4 separate regions of the Homo sapiens genome follow, and all the other regions are linked to region 4. Evidence: promoter capture Hi-C in human tissues and cell types (Jung and others, 2019). All regions are on one chromosome and are shown on one strand. The core of a region is centred on a gene start or on the middle of the fragment in contact, and the rest is flanking DNA. Distances in the headings are between cores, read along the strand shown. Region 1 holds the start of OSBP2 (oxysterol binding protein 2). Region 2 overlaps TCN2 (transcobalamin 2). Region 3 holds the start of MTFP1 (mitochondrial fission process 1). Region 4 holds the start of PATZ1 (POZ/BTB and AT hook containing zinc finger 1).

Region 1 (2,700 bases), core at 21-2,520, 650 kb before region 4:
TGTATTTCTGATTATTTGTAGTAACCATCAACTTTCGTCATTTGGATAGATTCTTAAGAAAAAAAAAAAATCACTGATGGCTGGGCACAGTGGCTCACGCCTGTAATCCTAGCACTTTGGGAGGCCGAGGCGGGAGGATCCTGGCCTGAGGTCAGGAGTTCAAGACCAGCCTGACCAACATGGTGAAACCCCGTTTCTACTAAAAATACAAAATTTAGCTGGGCATGGTGCGGGCCGTGGAATTCCAGCTACTAGGGAGGCCAAGGCAGGAGAATCGCTTGAACCTGGGAAGCGGAGGCTGCAGTGAACCAAGATCACGCCACTGCATTCCAGCCTGGGCTACCGAGTGAGACTCAGTCTCAAAAAGGAAAAAAAAAAAAAGCGGAAAAAAAAATTCGCTGATGTTTTAACCATTCTGGGGTCACAGCCTCCTTTGTTATGGACCTACTCTGGAAAAATGCACAGACAGGTAAACCTCTGCGGAAGCCTCACAGACTGCCAGCCTACCCAGGGATCCCGGGAGGTCCAAGTTCAGAATCCCACTTTGAGATGTTTCTTGTACTAAAACGCTTGGTTTACAAAAAGTCTTCCCCTATTTGTTTAGAGAACCCGAACGATGTCGTCACTGGCAGCGAAGCGCCTTGGCATGAACCGTAGGCCAGCTGGCTCAGGAGGTGGAGGCGGTGAGGCGGCCACTTGGGGCCACCGCTTCTGGCGGCCGCAGGAGCGACCCACAGACAGGTAATGGCTGCCATGGGGGGCGGGGCGTCGTCTTTAGCCTTTAGCGCCCCTGTGCTTCGTGCGCATTTCGTGGCCTCTGGGTGCCGTACCTGCTTCCCACCCGGCTTTCCTGGGTGGCGGAGAGCGAACCCACCCCAGCCTGGGTTGGGGGAGGGGGCGTCGGCGCAGGGTCCCGTGGGCAGAGCTGCGCTGGGAGCTGGCGGGCTCCGCATTCATCATTGTTCCTCCAGCGCCTGGCACGGCTGGGCCGAAGCAGAGACCGTGGCCTGAAGCGCGCCATCCCCTTCGGAGTTGACCGACCACCAAGCTCTTCCGCCCACAGGTGTTGTCAGAGCTCCTTCCACCGGCCGGACCTAGGAAGGACCCAGGGTCCAAACATGGCCCGAGGCTGGCCGAGAGCACAACAGCCGGCGGGCGCTGACGGGCACGGAGCGCACGGGACCGCGGAGGAACCCGCGCGCGCCCCCGCCTCGCGCCGCGCGCACGTGACTGCGCCCCCGGCCCCGCCCCCGGCCTGCCCCCCGCCCCCACTGGCCGCTCGGCCGCGCGCGGGTCGGCCGGCTCTATGGGGAAAGCGGCGGCTCCGAGCCGAGGCGGCGGCTGTGGCGGCCGCTCCCGCGGGCTCTCGTCGCTGTTCACGGTTGTCCCCTGCCTGTCGTGCCACACGGCGGCGCCGGGCATGAGCGCTTCCACGTCCGGCTCCGGGCCGGAGCCCAAGCCCCAGCCCCAGCCCGTGCCCGAACCGGAGCGGGGACCGCTGTCAGAACAGGTGTCGGAGGCAGTTTCGGAGGCAGTGCCAAGATCGGAACCTGTGTCCGAGACGACGTCTGAGCCGGAGCCAGGGGCTGGGCAGCCATCGGAACTGCTGCAGGGGTCGCGGCCGGGGTCAGAGTCAAGCTCAGGTGTAGGGGCTGGGCCCTTCACTAAGGCCGCATCGGAGCCGCTCTCCCGGGCGGTGGGGAGCGCGACCTTTCTCAGACCCGAGTCAGGATCGCTGCCAGCGTTAAAGCCCCTGCCTCTTCTGCGACCAGGACAGGCGAAGACTCCTCTTGGGGTTCCAATGTCGGGGACTGGCACGACCTCCAGTGCCCCACTGGCCTTACTGCCTCTGGACAGCTTCGAGGGCTGGCTTCTCAAGTGGACCAACTATCTGAAGGGCTACCAGCGCCGCTGGTTCGTGCTGGGCAATGGTTTGCTCTCTTACTACAGGTATGGAAGCGCCAGGGTGGGACATGGGGGTTGGAGGGTGGTGATGCTGCAGGGATGGTGATGGAGGGCCTCCATGGTTGGCGGACACTGCCACTAGTCTAGAGATGTTTAGGGGCATGCATTCCAGCAGGCCAAGTCACGCTTCTGGCCCGCCGCCAAGGGCCGGGGGCCCTGACCTCTGGCAAGGGTGAATGTGATCTGCGGACATGACCTCTGGCAAGCTTGGGTTTTTGGGCAAGTGGGGAGGTGGAGTAAGGGAGTGATCTGGGGCCTCAGTTCCCTTCTGCTTGGCAGTTGTGGGGCTTGGGGCAGCTAGCTAGAGTCAGCCCCTCAAAGTCCTTGCCCTTTCTGGTTCGGGAGCTAACATCATTGTGTGTTTGGGATTGAGGGAGAGAGTCACCTTGTTCAGTCCTTAGGACCCACACTCTTAGGAAGGGCTGCTTATTCTTCCCGCCTGGGGCAGTTACTCCCACCTTTCCTGATGCCTCTGGTTGCCAGGCCTTGGGCTGGGCACCACAGACTCACAGATGTATTGGACACGGTTCTTGGCCTTCAGGAGTCCATCTTGGCATTTTGCGGAGAGCTAGGAAGTGTTTTGCTGCCCTCCTTTCTTATTCCAGACCCAGCACGGGATTCAAAATTAAAGTCCAGTGGTGAGAGAGCTAACACTGTCTTCCCACTGAAACTGGTTGAAAGGAGGTTACTGAAGCCTCCCTTTGCTTTCTTACTGGCTCTTCCCTGGGTCTGCTT
Region 2 (2,700 bases), core at 70-2,569, 720 kb before region 4:
CAAATAAGGATGCTCTGCGGAGGTGCTGGCCTGCACTTTAGCACCTCCCTGTATTCAAGCTGCAGTGAAGCCTGGGCACTCCTGGCCTGGCTCAGCCACTTCATTCACTATGAGGGCCACCTCCGTTTCCTTCCTGTGGCCTATGGCACATAACGCAATGCTGCTGGGCACCAGCGCAGTCACTGATGGCCACGCATAGGCTGAGTGCCCTTGGGAGGGCTCAGACCCACAGACTGAGATTACCCAGAACCAGCTGGTATTCATGTTTGAATATTGTCATCAAAATGAAAGACAATTAGAATTTAACGTTTTTATTCAGAGCTCGGGGATCTCTGGGAAGACACTGTGGACTCCAGTCTGAGAAATGGTTCTCTTGTTAGTGTGCATGGATGCCTCAACTGGGTTCAGGCATGAAGACTATGTTTGAGGCCCCTGAATGCACAGCAGAGAAAGCTCAACTGCAGACACAGATAGACAGATGTGGAGAGAGGTAGCCCTGTGCAGCCACATGGCCCTGCAGAGTTAAGGAATGGGAAAAGGGCTACTCTGTGACATTCCTTAGAACAGTAGTTTCCCTTCGCTAAAGTCACCCCAAATAGGGTGGTGGTTGTTGTTGTTGTTTTGAGACGGAGTTGCATTCAGTCGCCCAGGCTGGAGTGCAGTGGCACGATCTCGGCTCACTGCAACCTCCACCTCCTGGGTTCAAGCGATTCTCCTGCCTCAGCCTCCTGAGCAGCTGGGATTACAGGGGCCCACCATCACACCTGGCTAGTTTTTGTATTTTTAGTAGAAATAGGGTTTCACCATGTGAGCCAGGCTGGTGTCAAACTCCCAACCTCAGGTGATCCACCCACCTCCGCCTCCTCAAGTGCTGGGATTACAGATGTGACCCACCGCGCCCCACCTGTGTTTCTTAAAACCAAAAAAATCCCTCTAAGACTGCAACCATCGATAACTTAGGGCTGTATTACCCCAGAGAGCACTTTGTAGAAGATGCGTTTGTTCACATCACTTCCCTGTTACTTTGACGGTCTCACCTCCTTTTCAGTCATTTGCATTCTCCCAGAACCTGCTCATTTGTTGTTTTTTGTTTGTTTGCTTGGTTTTGTTTTTGAGAAGCAGTCTTGCTCTGTTACCCAGGCTGGAGTGCAGTGGTGCGACCTCAGGTCACTGCAACCTCCGCCTACTAGGTTCAAGTGATTCTCCTGCCTCAGTCTCCTGAATAGCTGGGATTACAGGTGTGCACCACCATGCCCAGCCTAATTTTTGTATTATTAGTAGAGATGGGGTTTCACCATGTTGTCCAGGCTGGTCATGAACTCCTGACCTCAAGTGATCCACCCGCTTTGGCCTCCCAAAGTGCTGGGATTACAAGCATGAGCCACAGTGCCTGGCCTGACCCTGCTCTTTTGAAAGACCATTCCCCCAAATTCTGTGCACCTGTGTGCCTTTCTTCTCTCTGCCTCCTCTCAGCTCTGCCCCGCTCTCCTCCCTTCTCCTCTGGCAAATCCCACTCATCTCTTGAAGCCCTTCTTCCAGGGGAAGCCCTGATCATGCTGCTTTCTCCTGTGGGAGGGATGAAGGACGTGGCCCACGGAGTTTGTTTTGTTTTGTTTTGAGATGGAGTTTTGCTCATGTTGCCCAGGCTGGGGTACAATGGTACGATCTCAGCTCACTGCAACCTCTACGTCCCGGGTTCAAGCGGTTCTCCTGCCTTAGCCTCCCCAGTAGCTGGGATTACTGGCATGAACCACCACACCTGGCTAATTTTGTGTTTTTAGTAGAGATGGGGTTTCTTCATGTTGGTCAGGCTGGTCTCGAACTCCCAACCTCAGGTGATCTGCCTGCCTTGGCCTCCCAAAGTACTGGGATTACAGGGTTGAGCCACTGTGCCTGGCCCAGGCCCACGGAGTTTTAAGAGGCTTCCTGTGGCAGTGGCATCCAGACGGAGTGCAGAAACTCAAAGTTGAAGGCCAGAAGCTCAGGGAAGGGGGAGTGTGAGTTGAGGAGTCTCTTGGCTGCCAGGGCCAGAAACCGAACTCCAAGCCTCTCCACAACAGCGGGTGTAGAGCATGTAGAATCAGAGAGGAGGCTGAGCCATGCAGCCCCGAGAAGAGGGGAATGCCACTGAGCCACAGAGACCCAGTGCCACTGCCAGGTGTCTCTGCCTCCACTTCCCATGACCCTGCCTGTCTCTGTATGCAGGCTTCACCCTCTCTCGTTGTACATTGTACACATTCTAGGTGACACCAGCAGCTTCTGATTCTCATCCCCCATAACATCAGCCCCCCAGAGAGGGGACAACTGCTGAGCTGATAACATAATAGATGCCCCTTTCCTGGAGGCCATGGTCATGGTCAGCGTGGAGAGGATGAAGCCTGAGCAGGCAGGATCGGGGGTCTGGAGGGGAAGGAGGTGGAAGTTGAGATCACAGACCTGTGGCCAGGTGGCCTGGGAAGGGTTTGACGAGTGTCGGCCCAAAGAGCTTGGAAGGGATTTTGCTGCTGTGGGTGAGCACTGCCTCTCCCCTTAGGGACAACAGCCACCTCTTCTCTCCCCATTTGCCTTTCCCTTCTGTAGATATGAAACACAGGCCTCCTTGTCAGGCCCCTACTTAACCTCCGTGATGGGGAAAGCGGCCGGAGAAAGGGAGTTCTGGCAGCTTCTCCGAGACCCCAACACCCCACTGTTGCAAGGTGA
Region 3 (2,700 bases), core at 120-2,619, 920 kb before region 4:
CAGCCCTACAAGACAGAGGCGCCTAGGGCTGAAAGCGGGGGCCTCCGTAGGGAGCCAGCGGGGGCCTCAATAGTTACTCATTTTCTCTACCTTTGATGAAAATAAGAGCTAATTCTTAATAAGGCCTACCGGGTATCACGCAAAAACCCTGTGCTTACTATTACACTTTGGGTTGTTGCAAAGATTAAAGGAAATAAGCCGTGCAAAGCGCTTAAGAGCTTGGTATAAGTAAGTGCTCGTCAATGTTGGCTACTCTCATTTTTTTTGCAGACGTGGGAACTGGGGCTCAGGGAGGCTAACAGCCAGTAGGCGGCACAGCTAGGATTTGAACCCAGGATTGTCTCCAACGCCGCTCAATTATACCCGCCAAGGAGTCACAGAGACTTAGTGAAGTGCACACATTGCTCACCTGGGTGAACTGAGGTCCAGCGGGGGAAGGCTTCCTCCTGTTGTAATCACTAACCCCAACTCTGTCTCCCTTGCCCGATTCATTCATTCGTTAATTAATTCATCCAACATCCTGTCCCCAAGAAGCTCAGTCTGGGGACATACTGATCCAGTTAAATGCGAGTGCTTCCTAGTTATACATGGCGACTGCTGAGAAGGGACTCCAGAGTCCAGGCACCTACCTCCCAGGGGCTCACCGTTCACTCCTCTAGCCTCATTTAGAGCTCGCATTAAGAGCACGGGATCTGGATCCACACTGTTTGGATTCAAATCACAACTTCACCACTTAGCAGCTGTGTGTTCTGGGAAAATGACCCACCTTCTCTGTGCCTCCATTTTCTCACCTGTAAAACGGGCTCCCAGGCTGGTGGGAGGGTTTCAGGTGTAAGACATGGAGAGTCCTTTAGCGAACATGTAGACTGGCAATAAACTCAATAAATGGTGACTGTTATAATTAATCCTCGGAACCATCCTAGGGAGTGGACACTATTGTGTTCCCCATTTTATTTATTACATTAATTTTTTTTTTTTTTTTTTAGTAGAGACGAGGTCTCGCTATGTTGTCCAGGCTGTTCTCGAACCCTTGGGCTCAAGAGATCTTCCCGCCTCCGGCCTCCCAAAGTGCTGGGATCACAGGCGTGAGCCAACGGGCCCAGCCTGTGTCCCTCCCTCGTTTTTACAAATGAATAAAGAGATGCTGGATAAGCCCGAGGTCACAAGCTTTGCAGTGTAGCATCCCCCAACTTGATCCCCTGTCTCTTTGGCTCCAAAACCTACACTCAGTCCTGGGAGCGATTAGCGCCAACAGCTCAGAGAAAACGTGACGAAAACCAGTCTGTAAAACCCGAGCCTGGGAGAGGGGCTTCGGTGCGCGGGGGGAATTTGCAGACGCTCCCTGCTGGCGGAGATTTCCTGACCTGTCCTTCGGCGCGGGACTTTCGGCGGGTCCCGGCCGGGCAGACCCAAGTGCCGGCGGCGGAGACTGCAGTGGAGCCAGTACCGGCTGTAGTGGCCGGGGCCGTGGCGGGAGAGTCATGTCAGAGCCGCAGCCGCGGGGCGCAGAGCGCGATCTCTACCGGGACACGTGGGTGCGATACCTGGGTGAGCGCGGGGCGACGGGCGCGGCGACCCCACCACCACTGGGCTGGAGAAGCAGGGGTCGCCGGACGCCCGCCCGGGGCCTGGAGGAGGCGGGATGATCTTAGTTCTCATTCTGCTTTTGGGCCGGAGACTGGGCTCAGACAGGGCTAGGGACTTGCCCAAGGTCACACTACCCTGGTGGGTCGCCCAGGGCGGAAGCTCCCATGGGGTGAGCGGGCTGCCCGCTCTGGCATGCGCTCTGGCTGGCTGTGGAGTCGGGATCTCCACTCCCATTTCGGTCCTGACACGCACTGGCTCTGTCTGAACCTCAGTTTCCTCCTCGGCAAAAAAACAAAAACAAAACAAAAAACAAACGAGATACACACGAGGGCCTCTCTCATTGGGTGGTGGTTGCGAGGGTGGAATGGGATAAAGCGCAGAAAGCCCTGGCACTTGGCGAGCGTCTGGTCAGTGGCGCTGCCCTCGATCACTCTGCCCCTCTGGGTGCCTGTCACCTCATTAGTGCAGTTACTCCTGGGACCAAGACCAGGAAATCTAACCAATAAGCAATGGTAACAGTGACTCAGTGCTCAGTCCGCCCTCAGTGGCCCGAGTCCGAGGTGGGCATCATGGCACCAGTTTACATCTCGGAAAGGGAGGCTCAGAGAGGTCAAGTCACTTGCCTAAGGTCACCCAGGGACTGCTTAGCTGGCTAGGATGAGAACCAGCCTGCTCCAACGCCCCCTCGTGGAACAGTTGCGAGCCTAGGAATTAAATGTTCCCTCCCCCAGGCTATGCCAATGAGGTGGGCGAGGCTTTCCGCTCTCTTGTGCCAGCGGCGGTGGTGTGGCTGAGCTATGGCGTGGCCAGCTCCTACGTGCTGGCGGATGCCATTGACAAAGGCAAGAAGGCTGGAGAGGTGAGTGTTAGCCTATTTTCCAACCCCCAACCCTAGCTCTCTTCTTGTGTGGTTCAGTCCACAGCCTTGCATGTGATAAAGTCCCTGTGGGACACTCCAGTCCCTACAACCTTGCCTAGTGCAGTCCATAGACAGTCCTGTTTGTAGGACAGTGTACCCCTGCCCCCACACTCCCACTCCCCGAACTGGATGTGGCAGACTGTACCCCACTCCTGGGTGCGGACAAGTCCACTGGCCACTTGCCCCTCCCGGTC
Region 4 (2,700 bases), core at 96-2,595:
CCATTGCTGTTGGCTGCCAAGGCTGCCCCGTTGGTCATGTCCAAAGGGAAGCCCAAGTCCGAGGTCCCAGGGGGGCGAAAGAGCATTATATCGGCGCGGGCAGGGGGTACCAGGATCTGTACGTTGGACTGTTTGATGACTTCCTGGCAGATCTCGATAACCGACCTCATCAGCAGGAACTTGGCGGCCGTCATGAGTTCGGGAAAGCTCTCCAAGCGCACCACGATGCGGGAAGTGTAGGCGAAGTCCAGAATGTCCCCAAATACCTTGGAGCTGATAGTGTGCATCTCCAGCTCCCGGCTGCCCCCGGCCCCGCCGCCTGGTGCTGCCGTCGCGCCCCCTACATCAGCCGGACCCCCGTCCGCAGCTCCGCCGTCGCCCAACTGGGCGCTGAACACCGACTCAAAGTACTCGCTGCAGGCGGCCAGCACGGCGCGGTGCGCTGGGAAGCTCTCGTCGCCTACCCGCAAGAGCACGTCGCAGAAGCGCCCGCCGTTTTTGCGCTGCTGGTTCAGGTTGTGCAGCATCTCCGTGCTGTGTCTGCTCACCTGGTATGTGTAGCAGCCAGACGGGCCGCACGAAGCGTCGTTCACCCGCTCCATGGCCGCCGCCCCCTCCCACTAGCCCGGCCGCTGCACCTGCCCGCCCCCTCCCTTCCCCTCAGCAGCGAGAAGCGGGGCGCAGCAGACGTGTCCACACTCCCCACACGTGCCGGCCCGAGGCTCTGTAGTCTCGCAGGTGCGCCGAGTGTACACGCCCCCAGCCCGGATCAGACTGTCTAGACTGCGGGGTGCACCACCCCCCACATAGCCAACCCCCGCCCTCGCTGGACTGCGCGCCACTCTCTCCTCTCCGCCCGCCCGCCTCCCCTTCCCGGTCTACCTTCCGGGGGGGTGCGCGAGCGAAGAGGTGCGCCCCTCCTGCAAACGCGCCTGCCACCTCCCCTCCCGCCCGCCAGGCGGCGCCGGCGCGCAGCCAAGAAGGGCACGCGCACGCGGGGAGGAGAAGGAGGGGTCCGCCGCGCAGGCGCGCGCGCGCGCCGCGGCTTTTCCCGGGCCCGCTGGGGGCGCGCGCTGCGTCCCCTGCAAAGCGCGAGCCGGGGCGGGGGCGCCGGAGCGGAGGAAACAAAAGGCGAAGGCGAAGGCGGCGGCGGCGGGGCGCGCACGGGGGCGGTGGCGCGGGCCGGGTCCCGGAGCCTGGAGGGCGGTGGCGGCGGCGGCGGCGGCTGGAGCGGGCGGGCGGCGGCGGCGGCAGAGTAGGCCCTTCCTCAGGCCGGGAGAAGGCGGCGGCGGAGCGGCGGCTGTGCGGCCCCGGGCTCCGTGTGTTCGGAGCGGAGGAAAGATGGCAGCGGCTGCACTTCCTCTTGCACTTTCACCCCTGGGGGGAGGAGAAGGAGGGGGCGATACCAACAACACCCCCCCTCTCGCTTGCAGAAAAAAAAGAAACGGCGAGCTCAGAGTGGGGGCCCCGGCGTCCCCGGCCTTGCACGTGCGCGCCCGGATGCCTAGCCCGGGCCGCCTGGCGCTGCAAACTTTACACTTTCTTTGTGCCGAGCGCCCCCCCCTCACCAAGACGAGGATGCACGTCCCCCCTTCCCTATTTATACACCCCCCCCCCGCAGTCCGCTCCCCCCGCTTCCTGCCCCCCCTCCCCATTCCCCAGATCCGCCAATGCTAGAGCAGCCTGAGCCCCCGTCCGGCCCCCGCCTCCCCACCCCGCCCGCGGGGCCGGGGGCTGCAGTCTCAGCCCCCCCGGACCAATGCAAACGAAGCGCCGAGCCAGCAAACCAGCTCCCACTGCCCCTCCCCTGCCCGCTGAGAGTGGCGGCTAGCAGGGTGGGGGGGCAGGAACTGAGGGGTGCGGATCCGGGCCCCCCAGCCTGCGAAGCGCACTCGCAGGTCGAGCGGGCGTCGTCCACCCTTCGGAGCCCCGCTTTCATGCGTGAAATTCCCAGAAGTCGCCTGCGACCGCCTCCCTGCTTCAAACACCAGAGAGGGCCCGGGGTCCTGGCCGGAGACAGGCCGAACCTCCGGAGCTGCTTCTGCACCCGGTACATTGATCGATCTGATGGGCTGCGCGCCCGGAAGAGCTGGAGAGATGAAGCCAGCGTCCAGCTTCTCCCCCAAACCACAGCACGCCGAGCTTTGTCCCCGGGGAGCGTGAAGTCACCAGCTCCGGGAGGCGACAATATGAGGGCGATGGACGGGGCAGGGACCCCCGGAAGCCCCAGCAATCCTCAGGGAAGTGGGGGTGCCGGAGGAGTCGGGGACACCCTCAGGCCTCTCCAAGCCCGGAGCATCCCCAGCGCCCGCAGCCCTGTGAGACGCCGGGTGCTCTGGTAATGGGCCCTGCCGCCAGGCCTCGGCGCTTTGTCCCCGGCCCGCCCGGGGATGCTACCACGCTAGAGTTGTACACCAAGGTTTGTCTTCCCAGGAAGCGCTGGCGGCTGCCTTTGGGCCGCCTGGCGCGGAGCCCCAGGCTGCAGGCGCCGCGTGTGCGGGCGGGAAGTTCCCACAGTTGCAAAGAGGCAGCGAAGTATGTGTTCCAAACTTTCCACGGTTCCAAACTGAGCGCTTCCATTAAGAGAAGCGGTGTGCGGGGGAAAAGCATTCTGGGTATTAGCATGCAAATGAACGGGCCCGGCTTCCAACTCCGCTCGGGATTCCCACCGCTGCGCGCCGAGCTCGCGCCCAGCCACGC

Evidence for each region. Contacts are between HindIII fragments. The study calls those that stand out against the background at their distance.
Region 1: a contact is called between the fragment with the promoter of OSBP2 here and the fragment with the promoter of PATZ1 in region 4, in 1 of the 25 tissues and cell types used here (dorsolateral prefrontal cortex).
Region 2: a fragment that was not itself captured here is called in contact with the fragment with the promoter of PATZ1 in region 4 in 1 of the 25 tissues and cell types used here (aorta).
Region 3: a contact is called between the fragment with the promoter of MTFP1 here and the fragment with the promoter of PATZ1 in region 4, in 1 of the 25 tissues and cell types used here (H1 embryonic stem cells).

The regions. Positions count from the first base shown.
Region 1 is chr22:30,693,604-30,696,303 of GRCh38, forward strand. It overlaps OSBP2 (oxysterol binding protein 2), which reads left to right and starts at 1,271. Exons shown (of 14, transcript NM_030758.4): 1 at 1,271-1,950. The coding sequence starts at 1,307. RefSeq lists silencers at 944-1,023, 1,408-1,457. The HindIII fragment of the contact is 4,458 bases long and covers 1-2,700 here.
Region 2 is chr22:30,620,388-30,623,087 of GRCh38, forward strand. It overlaps TCN2 (transcobalamin 2), which reads left to right. Exons shown (of 9, transcript NM_000355.4): 8 at 2,581-2,696. Among named protein-coding and RNA genes, the nearest start is that of SLC35E4, 14 kb to the right of the region's middle. The HindIII fragment of the contact is 9,250 bases long and covers 1-2,700 here.
Region 3 is chr22:30,424,399-30,427,098 of GRCh38, forward strand. It overlaps MTFP1 (mitochondrial fission process 1), which reads left to right and starts at 1,370. Exons shown (of 4, transcript NM_016498.5): 1 at 1,370-1,548; 2 at 2,319-2,446. The coding sequence starts at 1,482. SEC14L2 (SEC14 like lipid binding 2) reads left to right here. Exons shown (of 12, transcript NM_012429.5): 12 at 1-905. RefSeq lists a silencer at 1-12 and enhancers at 1,630-2,188, 2,189-2,700. The HindIII fragment of the contact is 6,033 bases long and covers 1-2,382 here.
Region 4 is chr22:31,345,001-31,347,700 of GRCh38, forward strand. It overlaps PATZ1 (POZ/BTB and AT hook containing zinc finger 1), which reads right to left and starts at 1,346. Exons shown (of 5, transcript NM_014323.3): 1 at 1-1,346. The coding sequence starts at 602. LINC01521 (long intergenic non-protein coding RNA 1521) reads left to right here and starts at 1,759. Exons shown (of 1, transcript NR_120386.1): 1 at 1,759-2,700. RefSeq lists silencers at 102-171, 722-1,141, 1,512-1,581, 1,632-1,851. The HindIII fragment of the contact is 10,371 bases long and covers 1-2,700 here.